Regions from separate parts of the Homo sapiens genome. Here region 1 is linked to region 2. Evidence: promoter capture Hi-C in 16 types of primary human blood cells and fetal thymus (Javierre and others, 2016). All regions are on one chromosome and are shown on one strand. The core of a region is centred on a gene start or on the middle of the fragment in contact, and the rest is flanking DNA. Distances in the headings are between cores, read along the strand shown. Region 1 overlaps TMEM38B (transmembrane protein 38B). Region 2 holds the start of TAL2 (TAL bHLH transcription factor 2).

Region 1 (7,220 bases), core at 20-2,519, 58 kb before region 2:
TATAGATATATGAAATATTTAGTGAGCTCTTAATTTGTGCCTATATTGTTCTAGAAGCTAAGTGCTGAATCCAGTAACAAAACAAATGTATAATCATTTCCAGGGGTAGGAACTCCTACACAGTGTCTTTGTCCTCTGGGAAAATGAATTAGAGAAAGGGTCCTTTGGTAAAAGCAAGGGCTACATTTCAATCTCAAATAACATATTCACCTGTGCCCCACTGTGCAGGACATAAACTACAATCTATACAAAGGTACATGACGGCTCACAAGGAGGCAGATTTGTATTAAGGAAAAACACATTTCTATACAGCTGAAAGAATATGAAGCTGTTCTTTAATTTAGTTCACTAAGCTTAAGTTTTAACCAAATTAAACTGTGATTAAAAATAATTCATCCCATCTATGGTAAATTATTTTTTTAAACTTCATTTGTTCTAAGCATCTATTCGAATACTAGCAGTAAGATCTATTGGAAAACATACTGCTTTTTTCTCTCCATTCTCCAAATACTCTGGCTGACAATTTTGTGCTTAAAGTAGAACATATCTTCTTTCTAACGGGGTAAATAAAAGACATGGCATGAAAGAATATCATATCTCTTTTAAAAGAAGCTATTAATCTTATTGCAATTCACGATTTATAAAGTCAGAATTCTTCAATGTTCATGAAATATGAAATGTTTGCCAAAATACTGCTTCAGCGACTAAATAAAAAGATACAATAGTCTGTTTAGCCTAAAGCACCCTTTCTTCTTCATCTCCACTTACCAATTCCTTCCTACTCTTCAAGGTGCCACTCAAATATTACCATAGTCATTGACTTTGGGATTCTTATTTTATTTTAACATCTCAGCTCAGACTACATTCTGATGGCTCTGTAAAACTAAACCAATTGGTTCCTATGCCTAAAAATAGCTCTTTATACATTATTCTTTATAATATAAAATAAAGGCTATAATGCTCATAATGAACTACAATAGTTCTTAGATGACAGAAATCATTCATCTTGTTACCCTCTAACCTAAAACTCAGCATGATGAAAAGTAGCCCTGAATTAAATCATTTATTAGCAGTCAATCTGGATTCAAAATCCAAAATACAGCAAATCAAAGCATTAGTTGATAATTAAAGAGTTTGAGAAAAAAGAATAAACTATCTGAGAGTAGTAAAAAGATTTCTGAAGACCATTTGTATGGCTTTAAAATTGTACATGTTCTATAAGATTTTTAAAAACAACTAGTATGATTTAAAATTTTTACACATTCATAGAAAATTTGAAAGTCTGTATAGTTCTCTCTTTGAATATAGAACTAATTTCTAAGAAGTTGGTTAGGTAATGGGGGAAAAGTATACACACTTAATTTTTAAATGTATTTTTATATCTATTATAGATTACATTAAGAAAGGGGGATTTGTTTTCACCTTAGCAGTAATGAGCACCCAAAAGTAAAATATTCAGAAAAACAACCAAAAGAATGTTATAAATGACCCATTTTCATTCCTTACACTAAGCCTAACTTTAACGTGAGTTAAAAACCTATACTATTACAATAGCAATCTTGGACTTCGGTATTCAACTATGTGACATTATAGTATAAGACATTAAAAAATTTGCAATTATTGCAACTCTTCTATTTAATCAGATCTTTCTAAAGCACACCTACAATAAGTTAACATTTTAAACAAAAAAACTGTTTTCATTTGAGAGTTAAGTAGCCACAGGGCAAAAGAACAATTGTTTATTGTGCTCAGTAGACTTACAAGTAAACATATCAGACCAATGGCACACTCAACAACCATTCCTGCTCTATAACAAATTAGCCTTTAAAATTCTTTTAATAAATCCCTCAACCAACACTTATTAGGTAATAACCTTGTAACCCTTCTGTAAACATAATTTCACCTTTAACTAAAATTATCATATCCAAGGTAACTTTAACTTGTAAAGTGCCTAAAGAAAACATATCACAAAATGAGAGAGGAAGTGGAATGAGAAAACAACTGACTTCTCATACATTTAACTATAGGTTAAGTTAATGGAGAGAAAAAATAACGAAAGAATAAACGTCTCAAACGGGATACAAACAAGACCCTAGGCCACAAACAAATGAAATCTCAACCAGTTTAAGAAAAAGTGAGAGTAGAATTTAGGTATATACAAAAAGTTAGGCAGAGAGAAGCTTCCCAGGCTTAGTCATTGAGAACTCTGTTTTCACTCTACTATCAATTCCACTCCTCTATCGAAGACAGTATCACTTAACTAAGACAAAACACAATGATAAACTAAATACAGTTCATGTTAGTCCAGTATGACAGCTTTGTTCTTGCTCTTATCACTCCAACAAATTGAAAATTTTTTGTACATGCTTTGAAAAATACAGACAGAATGACAACTATAAAATGATACCTTTTGTTGTATTTTTCCTCATCTAAATGTAGTCTCGGTTACACAAATGTGCCATATATAAGTAATTGATACTTGGAATTTTAAGAAAAATATATAGGAAACAAAAATAAACATACTAAAAAATTATAAAATATTTATTTCCCCCGGGAACAGCTTTTCAAAACAAATAAAACCTATGAAAGTGTACACAATACTATGACATACCAAGTTATTGTTTCTCTTTGCCAGTAGATGGTGCTAATTTCCAGATGTATACACTATGAGCTACTGTACTAAAGATTACCTTGCTTGCTTGTTTAAAAACATTTCTAACATCATTTTATCTCTCAAATTAAAATCAAATGGGCAGGGCACGGTGGCTCATGCCTGTAATCCCAGCACTTTGGGAGGCCAAGGCGGGAGGATCACGAGGTGAAGACTTCAAGATTAGCCTGACAAAACATGGAGAAACCCCATCTCTACTAAAAAACACAAAAATTAGCCAGCATGGTGGCGGGCGCCTATAATCCCAGCTACTTGGGAGGCTGAGGCAGGAGAATCACTTGAACCCAGGAGGCGGAGGTTGCAGTGAGCTGAGATCGTGCCATTGCACTCCAGCCTAGGCAACAAGAGCAAGACCCCATCTAAAAAAAAAAAAAAACCTCAAATGAAGCAAAGATTACAAATTTGTTCTAAATATGAAAACTTTGAAAAAGAAAATAGTAAAATACACTATGTCTTTAAGCCATAATTTTTTTATATTTAAGGATCTCTGAAGACAAAGGTAACATTCCTGTTTCCAGAGTACAAACCAATATACTGTGTAAGTACAGATTAAAGGACTAGCTGCGCCAGGTTGGAATCCCAGCTTCAACTACTCAGTAACTGTGACACCTTAGGCAAGTTATTAACCTCTCCATGCCTCAATTACATGCTTTTTAACACGTAATTGAATAAAATAATACCTACGTCTCAGGGTTCTTGTCAGGTTTAAGTGAGATAACATAAGCAAAACACTTAGAAAACTGGGACACAGTAAATGCTATGTAATTGCTATTATTGTTGTTTTGTAATGCCTAACTAAACACCTAGAACCAAGAAAACTGCCATCAACAAAAGAATAAAATATAGATATTAATATAATGGACTATACAGCAGGGGGAAGTTATGTTCTACAGCTACATACAAACAAACAGATGAATCTTAGTAACATAATGTTGAATACAAATCTTAGCTTTTTTATGTAGTTTTAGCATATGTTTATATCCATAAACAATATAGTTGTTAAAGGTTTTATAAATAGAATCATATGTATTTTTCTGTTTAAGCTCTATTCCTGAGATTTATTCTTATTGTGTGTGGTTATAATTACTAATTTTCACCAGTATTTACCGTAACAGAATTAATATGCCATAATTTATCCATCATTTCTCTGCTGACAGAGAGTTGTTCCCAGTTTTCCCTATTATAAATAGTGTTTTAAAAACATTCTTGCACATATCTGTACATAAGCAACATTTTCTCTTGTTATATGCTTAAAGATTTATTTTAGGAAAGTGATTCTTAAACTCTATTAGATAATGCCATTATATTAATATCCATATTTTTTCTTCTGTGGATGAGCATTTTTATTGCTTCTAGTTATTTCTCTGGGCATCATGAAGTTGAAGATAATGGTTACTTCTGAAGGCGGAAGAAAAGAGATGGAATGGGAGGAGACCATAGAAGTGACATAAAAACTAATGGTAAGGGTTCTGAGAAGATGGTAGTGGCTGCATACATTCTGATACTCTTCAAATTCCCATAAAAACATACAGAGAAACAAGACAGGAAAACCAAAATCCCACGCACAATAGTTGACTCTTCAACAACATGGGGGTTAGGGATGCCAACCCCTATGCAATCAAAACACCACATATAACTTCTGACTCTCCAAAATCTGACTATTAATACCTTACTGTTGACCACAAGCCTCACCAATACTATGAACAGGTGATTAACAGATTTTTTTATGTCATATGTATTACATAATTTTTTCACTGTCACCTACCTGTCCCTGATGTATTCTTATAATTAAGCCACAGAAAATGTTTAAGAAAATGTTAAGGAAGAGATAATGTATTTATTATTCATTAAGTGGAAGTGGATCATCATGAAAGTCTCCATTCTTCTTCATCTTCACAAAGAGTAGGCTGACGAGGAGGAGGGATTGGTCTTGCTATCTCAGGGGTGGCAGAGGCAGAAGAAAATCTGCACATAAGTGGATTCACACAGTTCAAATTCATGTTGTTCAAGGGTCAACTGTACTTACAACAAAACTATGTGACAAGGTATCCCCTCAAACCCCAAAATGCAAGTGGGTAGAGAAAAATCACTAACACCCACAACACTGTACTACTTGGCAGAAAGAAGAAAGCAACAAGGTGGCAACTGATGAACTTAAGACCAAAATCATACCAAAATAGCTAACGGGTATTCACTGGAAAGCAGAGCAGACTCATTTGGAAATATACACACACACACACACAAATGCTACAACTGACAGAGGTTCTGGCATCTCTAATACCAGATAAGACAAAGAGCCCATGATAAGAAGTTCTGAAAGGGTTGGAACAATTTAGTCCCTCTGAGCTTTAAGCTTTTGAAACTGACCCACCAGGGCTCTCTTCTATAATAAGCCCCACACTGAGAAGAAACTGAGAAGAATCAAGCCTGAGCTCCCCACACTGAGAAGAAACTGGGAAGAATCAAACCTGAGCAGAATAGAACAGAAGAAAGAAAAGGTCCACACCAAGCCAAGGAAGGTAAGAGATCCAAGAAATATCAAAAAGCAGGTCCTCATCTTTTGAACACTACATAAAAACAAAAGCAGGAGCTCTGTGAAGTCAAGAAAATATTTCCACCACATTCTGCAAGTTTATGAAAGCCAATTTCATATAAAAATGACCAAAAGTATCAAGATCAAATCCTATACAAAGTTATTACAAGAAAAAAAATAAGCAGAATAAATCCCTATAGACAATGTAAGCACTCAGGAAAATGTGCAAACAAAACAGATCAAAACTGTAAACTATGATTTCAAAACAAGCTAAAGACATTAAGAAAGTCATGTAAGACATAAAAGAACACACATAAGAATAAGCAAAACTGAGAACCAAAGATTCAACACTCAGGAGAGAGTAAGAGATAAAAGAAAAAAAATCATTTCCAAAATAAAAAACAAACCAGAAAACACAAAGAGAAACATAACAGATAGTGTCTTCAAAGAAACAGCAGGAGAAAAGAGAAAAGAGAAAAACAAGTGAAAAGCAGGTTAATTTTTTTAGAAATATAGATTTTTAAAAAATCCTTGAAGAAAGGCAAAGAAGAGCCAATATACCAATAATAAGAGTTCTTAACCAATGCAAAGGAAGAATACAAATACTAGTATTACTTTCTCAATTAAAAAAAAGTGTAGGTACCAAAAAGAACACACCATGTAGAAGAGAATACTGTCGCACAACAACGAACACCAAGATATTTTATTTAAATGACTGGACCTTAATGAAAAAATAAATCTTTAGGGATCTAGAAAAAAAAGATCTTAAAAGAGAAAGAAAATTAAAAGATCACCAGACTTTCACAGCAGTGCTTTAAGCCAGAAGAAAATGGAGTAATATATTTAAAATGACAGTGTAAAATAGTACATTTATTGTTAAAATGGGAGAATTAATAGAACATATGCAATAATAATTTTCTGTAATCATTTCTTTGGTAGTCTTTAACATTACTCTAAGACTACTGTGTGCATAATACAGAAAAAAATCAGTAATGTTAGAATATATTAATTTAATCACATCCTATGTCCTTAAGAAACCAAATTCTTAGGGTGGAAGAAAGGAGATATATATGTAACAGGGAAAAAATTTTAAAAAGCTATATGGTCCTGAATTTGAATTAGAAATATGAATATAAAGTCATGAGTTATTTTATCTTCATTTTTCCTAGCTCTGTTCACTAAAAAGGCCTAGACATAATGATCAACCCAATAACAGTGAGCGTCTCTAGCACTCAAATTGTGGTCTTGAAATGCCATTGCTCACCAAAAGAAACCAGAACGTCTTAGAGAAACAAGTGATTCCAGAAGAAAAGCACACAATGAATCTTACAACACCAGGTAGAAAGTAAACTAATTCAAAATCTGTCTCAGGAGTCTATCTGAAGAGGCTTCCACTGGCTGAAGATGGGATAATTTGAGCTTCGATATGAAAATAACTGAAATTTTATTGAAACCAATGAAATATAGTTAGTCCATGAGCTCATAATTATTTTATTTAAGCTGGTATCTTTAGACAATGACAGACATCCAGTTCATTATACTGAAAACTGGTAAATGAAGGGAAAGAACCAAGCATTACCTTTCCAGTATGAACTGTATAGCTGGTTTCCAAATAGATGATAAACAGGAAGTATCTATTTGTATTTTGGGATCTTTGGGATGTCACTTTTCTGGGCAGAAACCTTTGTGGCTGGTGGCACCCTTGACCAAGCTCTTGTCCTGCGTCCAGGAAGAATGAAGTATTCAGACAAGTGGAGGGTGAGCAAGACAAAGAGAAGCTTTGTTTAGTGTTAGAGCAGCTCAGAGAAGACCCACAGTGGGTAGCTCCTCTTTGTAGGCAGGTCATCCTGTTGAGTGTGCAGCTGTCAGCTGAGAGGAAGGTGGGTGGCTCCTCTCTGCAAGCAGGTCCTCCCATTGTCTCTGCAGCTCTCAGCAGGGAGGAGGCTCCTCTCTGCGGTTTGTAGGCAGGTCATCCCAACAAGTGCTCGGCTCTCAACAGAGAGGGTAGCTCCTCTC
Region 2 (6,950 bases), core at 1,805-4,304:
CTGACGTAACAGTCACTTTAACCAAACATGACTTGGTGTACAAAAATGCAAGCAGGCAAAAGAAATCATTTAGGAGGTGAAATACATAAATTAATGATTTAAAGTTTCATTTATTAATTATAGGATTATTTGCAAATTTCTTTAAATAATTTCCCCCTCACATAGTTTAATGAGAACTTGATCTCCTCATGACTTTTCAGGAGCACTCTGTTACATTTCAGCGGAAAGGCCCTCTTTGTCGAAGATCATGGCCCCCTTTGACACAGATCATGGCCCCAGCAGCAGAAAAGTGGACTCATCCTGGGTAGAGGGGCAAAATCCTATATCTAGGCAAAGAGATACTCTGTGCTTTCCTTGGCAACATGTTGAAACAAAGCTAATATAAAAATACCGTCAAAAGTGTTATTTTGATTTAATTTCAGATGAGAGAGTAAGTGATGTTAATTGACAACTGTCATCAAAACTTTGAAATGTACTATCACCTGGTAATTTGGGGGTAAGCTTGTGTCCACATAAGCTAGTGAGAAAAAAAAAAATGCACATTCAGGAAAACCATTTTGATCTCTTTTCTTATGTGTTTCCCTGGACTATGCTGGGTCCGTGGGGAAGTTTACCAAATACAGTTTAAATAAAGGGCCTAGAAGGAAATCTTACTGGTTCAAATAAATGCATTGTGTTACAAGTGTGAATGCTGTATAGAATTTAATGACATAATGACCTTTCTATTTCGGGAGAATGAGATTGTAAGAGTTTCATCCAGCTTTCTTCCAATCACCAGACCAAGGAGGCTCATTTCAACCTTTCACAAGTAAAACACCTTATTTCTGAGTGGCAGGAAATTTAAATTCCTCTGTTGTGTATATACTGGAAATCCCTAATCTCAAATCCATCAGTTTCCTACGTATGGTTTAGAAGGTTTTAAAACCAATGTACTGTCAAGAACTTTGGGGAAGGAAAATGTCCCAGAGATAATCAAATAACATTATTTGTATTCCAGGTTCAACTATAGGATTTATCTTTGACTCCAAGTATCATCAGGGTGGCATATGGTGATGGATTCTGCCAGATCCGTGCTATTTCACTGACTTGTTGGGTACCAGGCCTCCAAGCCTAAGACTAAGCTTGATCACCCTTGATCAAATACATCTCATTTTTCAAAACCAACTTTAAAATCTGTTCTGAGGGAAGCATATGCTACTCATTCATCTGAGATCTATTATGAGAAACTTTTTTCTTTTTGAGAAGGCTAATGTGCCATAGCAAAGAAGACAAATTACAAATTCATTAGTTCATTAGCGTCTGGTATTACATTTCTATTGTTTACTCTAAATGTTTTGTTTAAACTAAGCTCTCTGTTAAATGAGTCATTAAATGGTAATGTTTGGATTTTCATAATTATAATTGAATTTTACAGGTCTTGAATCAGCAGGAGTTCAGGCTGAGTGAAACGTTTTAATGCATGACATGTGAAGTGAAGGCTTTAGCTAACTTATTTCAGCTAACTGTTTTTCGTAAGAAAACTACGAGCCCTAACACATAAATTATCCAGTTGTTTCGTCTCACAGATATAATCCACTATTTGCCTTTAGAAGTCACATATGTACAAATGGCTCAGCACAAGTAGCACCTCACACTTCTACAGAGTTGAAAGGACACAGAACTGTTCCACATATCTCTGCTGCATTCCTGTAATCCCCACACCTTAGTGGGCGGGGGGCGGGGGGTGTCTTTTCTCCACAGATTTTTCCCGCAAGTCTCCCAGGTTGGTTTCTGCAGGGGTTATCTTTCTATTCATCAATCTTAAGATTTATTTTGTTCACCTTTGATCAAATGCATCTCATTTTTCAAAACCATCTTTAAAATCTGTTCTGAGGGAAGCATATGCTGCTACTCATTCATCTGAGATCCATTATGAGAAAACTTTTTTTGTTATTGTTGTTTTTGAGAGCGAGTCTTGCTCCGTTGCCCAGGCTGGAGTGCAGTGGCATGATCTTGGGTCACTGCAACCTCCCCCTCCCGGGTTCAAGCGATTCTCGTGCCTCAGCCTCCTGAGTATCTGGGATTACAGGTGCGCACTACCACACCTGGCTCATTTTTGTATTTGTAGTAGAGACGGAGTTTCACCATGTTGGCCAGGCTGGTCTCAAACTCCTGACCTCAGGTGATCTGCCCATCTCAGCCTCCCAAAGTGCTGGGATTACAGGCGTGAGCCACCGTGCCCGGCCCATCAATCTTAAGATTTATTTTGTTCACCCTTGATCAAATCTCATTTTTCAAAACAAACTTTAAAATATGTTCTGAAGGAAGCATATTCTACTTATTCATCTGAGATCCATTATGAGAAAACTTCTTTCTTATAACTGAAGACATTGAGTATAAACAGTGATTTTCAGCCTTTTTTTTTTTTTATTTAGAATTTTTTCTCCAAAAGTCTTATGCAGAACCTGGATTTAAAATAGGCAGAGGTAGGCCGCTCTACCTGACATCCCTGGGGGGTGGCGGCCCACAAGTGACATTCCTCATGGCTTCTTTCAGCTCCCTGCAGCTGTCTCTGAGCCACCTCCCAGGAAGCTAGAATTCATGCTTCACGAGTTATCATCAGGTCAACTCTGGAACATGCAAAAGTCTGTCCACAGGCAGTGATTTCTGGGCAAGTGCTGCCCTGGGAGATGACAGCCAGAGCCACACTAAGGAATGTGGTGGCTTGGACCAGGTGAAGGAACCTGGTAGTTCTCAAGCAGAGTTCTGTCCTCCAGGCCTGGCAGGTGGGGTCCTTGAGGGAAGAGCCCCAGAATGTTCCCCTGAGCAGCCACTCCCGTTTGTTGCAGGCTTTGCTCCCCCAAGACCTTGACCAAGAAGTTGATATACCTCATTGCCAGGCGAAGCGTTTCATTTTTGCTCAGCTTTTTGTCTGGAGGGTGAGTGGGGATGAGCTTCCTCAGCTTGGCAAAGGCGCTGTTGACATTCTGCTGCCTCCACCGCTCCCTGGTATTTGTGAAGATCTTCCTGGTCATGTTTGAGTTCCTGAGATGGAAAGAGAAAGGGCCCTCAGGGCCAATATCTTATAAGAGGCCTGATTGGTATCACATGTCCTGCCAAGAACCTGAGATGTTAGATTTTCTCGACTCAGAGCTTACGAGATTCATTTCCTCATTTTCAGGTTTTTAAAAAAGAAAACAACCCCACAGGGACACAAACATATGCCTCTCACCTTTCGAGGCATCAGTGACGCTATGAATTATGCATAATTTCTTTTTTTAACTTAAAAACAACAGGGGAAGGTAAGAACAACACCCTTCAGCTTTTTCTCTCTGGCTGTTTTGAAGCCTCCAGTTGAAAGATTGCTTTGTCCCAATACTCCTGTTTCTTCCTTTATAACCAACTCTTCCTAATTGTTCAGAATCAGGTACAATATTGATTGAGTTTATGTATAAATGCAACATATGTTTGGCCAATAGAAAGTTTGTTTTTTGTTTTTTGTTTTTTTCTTTTTTTGAGATGGAGTCTCACTCTGTCACCCAGACTGGAGTGCCATGGCACCATCTCAGCTCACTGCAACCTCCAGCTCCCGGGTTTGAGCGATTCTCCTGCCTCAGTCTCCGGAGTAGCTGGGACTATAGGCGCCTGCCACCACGCCTGGCTAGTTTTTATATTTTTAGTAGAGATGGGGTTTCACCATGTTGGCCAGCCTGGTCTTAAACTCCTGATCTCAGGTGATCCACCCGCCTCGGCCTCCCAAAGTGCTGGGATTGCAAGCGTGAGTCACGATGCCCGGCCACCAACAGAGAGTTGAATATGAATCAACAATGTATTATCAGAATGAAGTAAAAAAAGAAAATGATTGTAGGTTTCGTTAATAAAATAAAATTTGGAATAGAGAAGACAATACAGCTCTCTTGTTAGCTGGCAGACCTCACCTGGAGGATTCAGCCCCTCTCTGTAAGAACTAAAATATCCAGACTGGACTATATTTAGAGGAGCAGGAACAGAATGATGAAGGGTCTTGAAACCCTGGTGTATGAAGAACAGAAGTGGGGGTATTTAGTCTCGCAAAAATGAAAAGACAAGGGGCAGGTGGGAGTGGTGATTTGGCGTGGATTCTGTAGAAGATACTTGGGCCTCTTTGGGGCTGCATTGGATGACCTTTCCAAGTCTAGGAGAGTGGTTTATCATCACATACTGCCGAGCATTATGCAGGCATTTTTCACTCTTAGAGGCAAGAGTCCCTTTTTTCAAGTGGCTTGGATTAACATGTGCTAATAGGAACACTTGGGAGGCACTGGCAAACAAGCCCAAGTCTAGCCCCAGGCAGTTTGATGTTCTTGGCTTACTGCTATTGGTCTGCTGCCTGCTCCACGCTCAGCTCCTCTGGGCACTGGGCCCTTTCTAGTTCCTCCGAAGACTCATGAATATTCCCAACTCTACACTTTCGCACATTGTCATTTTCTGTTCCTTGAATTTCCTCCCCACTCTCTACTTACCTATTTCTTTAAACAGCAGGTGAGATCTTCCCTTTCCAAGCCCTGACTCTACAGGAGTCTTCACGTAACTCAGCCATCAGTGGAACCATATGCATGGTGGTCAAGAGCACAGGCTCCAAGGCCAGAACCCCGGTTTGGCTGTTGGTTATACTCACCCTAGCTGTGTGACGAGCAATCTACTTAACCTCTCTGTGTTTCAAATGCCTCATAAGTAAAGATCAGTACAGGAGTACTGCATCATTGTGAGGACACATGAAATGATACACATAAAGCACCTTAGCTCAGTGTCTAGTGCATATTAAAGGCTCAATAAATATTTAATGATTGGCGGGACTCAGTGGCTCACACCCGTAATCCCAGCGCTTTGGGAGGCCAAGTCGGGGGGGGGGGGGGTGGCAGATCACCTGAGGTCAGGAGTTCACGACCAGCCTGGCCAACACGGTGAAATTCCATCTCTACTAAAAATGCAAAAATTAGCAGGGCGTGGTGGCGCACGCCTGTAGTCAGAGCCAATCAGGAGGTTGAGACAGAAGAATCACTTGAACCCAGGAGGTGGAGGTTGCAGTGAGTCGAGATCGCGTCATTGCACTCCAGCCTGGGCGACAGAGCGAGACTGTCTCAAAAAAAAAAAGAAAATTAATGATTGCAATTATTATCTTTAAAAATAAAACAGTGAAAAATAAATGTTGTAATTTATCATTTTCTTCCTAATGAAGAAGTTATATGCATTAGAGAAGGTCTTAGCTTTGTTTATGTGCTCTTTTGATTCACTTTACAGGAATATATGGGTGTGTGTGTGTGTGTGTGTGTGTGTGTGTGTGTGTGTGTGTGTGTAGAGCAAAAACCTGGAAGGATTCAGGCCAAACTGTCAACAGTGGTTCATTGGGAGAGGACAGTAGATTGGGAGAAGAGAAAAAAAGGAGACTTGTGGTGTTTTATTCTTTTTTTGGTATTGTTTTATGTGTACATATATAAAATCTTTTTTTTTTTTTTTTTTGAGACAGAGTTTCGCTCTGTCGCCAGGCTGGAGTGCAGTGGCACGATCTCAGCTCGCTGCAACCTCTGCCTCCTGGGTTCAAGTGATTCTCCTGCCTCAGCCTCCCTAGTAGCTGGGACTATAGGCACACGCCACTGGGCCCAGCTAATTTTTTTGTATTTTTAGTAGAGAAGGGTTTTCACCATGTTGGCCAGGATGGTTTCAATCTCCTGACCTCATGATCTGCCCGCCTCAGTCTCCCAAAGGGCTGGGATTACAGGCGAACCACTGCACCAACTGCATTTTTCAATCATCTCTATGCCCCCCGGGACATTTCCCCATCCTAGTTCCTTTCTTGTTGCCTTTCCTGCTTGTGTCTGGGTTGGGGAGTCCAGTGCTGTGCTAAGAATTCATGGTGAACTGGAAGCACCGCAGCCCGAGGTCACCACATGGCTTCCGGCTCCCCGCACTGTCCTCTTGCACCCACATCCTCTCTCCGTGGAGACATTCCTAGTTGGACCCATGGACCAATTACAATACTATGCACTCCAAGCTTTGGGACCAACATTTACTGACACTACGAGCCAGGTATTGTGCTTGCTGCTGAGTGTTGAGGAGCTGGCTGATTGTATTAACGTGTGAGGGAAGCATTGCGACTGCAGGAGCAGAGAAGCAGCAGCTAGCCAGGCATTCTAGCGGGTTCCCAGGCAGGCCAGGTCTCCTTCCAAAACTGAAAGGGGTGGGCCAGGTGATCCCCAGGACCTCATTCAACTCAGAAATGCTACAATGCCCCACCCATTTCCATTTTTTTTTTTTTTGACGGAGTTTTGCTCCTGTCACCCAGGCTGGAGTGCAGTGGCCAATCTTGGTGCCCACTGCAACCTTGGCCTCCCGTGGCACAGTCTCGGCTCACTGCAACTTCGTCACACAGGTTCAAGTGATTCTCCTGCCTCAGCCTCCCAAGTAGCTGGGATTGCAGGTGCCCGCCACCACAGCCAGCTAATTTTTGTATTTTTAGTAGAGATGAGTTTTCACCATGTTGGCCAGGCTGGACTCAAACTCCTGACCTCAGGCGATCCACCTGCATTGGGCTCCCAAAGTGCTGGGATTACAGGCGTGAGCCACCATGCCAGGCCACATTGCCTTTTATCTAACCTAAGTCATTTCTGAATAATCTGACCTTTGGTTCTACAATGAAAATTTGAGTGTTGTCAGAACTATACCCAAGTATATACCTAAAATATAAAAGTTTAAACCTGAATCAAGGGGATTTTAAGGTAGAAAACTATCCAGTTTTGTCCACACTGACACTGGCTGGGATTGCAGGAGCAAAGTTACATTCATGCTTCTCTTATCACAACAGGGTTTAGCTCATTCACTAAGTCAACCATAGTCCCATGGGGGGGTCTTTTTCAAGCTGGGAGGAAAAAAGATTAGGCAGGATAAACTAACGATGGTGTTCTTTTCTAAGAGGGCTCTATCCTATTGTACTA

What was found. Contacts are between HindIII fragments. The CHiCAGO score rates a contact against its expected background, and 5 or more counts as called.
Region 1: a fragment that was not itself captured here is called in contact with the fragment with the promoter of TAL2 in region 2 in 1 of 17 cell types (naive B cells); the score reaches 5.2 in naive B cells.

The regions. Positions count from the first base shown.
Region 1 is chr9:105,714,069-105,721,288 of GRCh38, reverse strand. The region is part of intron 2 of TMEM38B (transmembrane protein 38B); the gene reads right to left. Among named protein-coding and RNA genes, the nearest start is that of TMEM38B, 23 kb to the right of the region's middle. RefSeq lists a silencer at 6,915-7,115. The HindIII fragment of the contact is 1,827 bases long and covers 356-2,182 here.
Region 2 is chr9:105,658,561-105,665,510 of GRCh38, reverse strand. TAL2 (TAL bHLH transcription factor 2) reads right to left here and starts at 3,054. Exons shown (of 1, transcript NM_005421.3): 1 at 2,387-3,054. The coding sequence starts at 3,014. The coding sequence ends at 2,688. RefSeq lists an enhancer at 2,938-3,027. The HindIII fragment of the contact is 4,889 bases long and covers 1,124-6,012 here.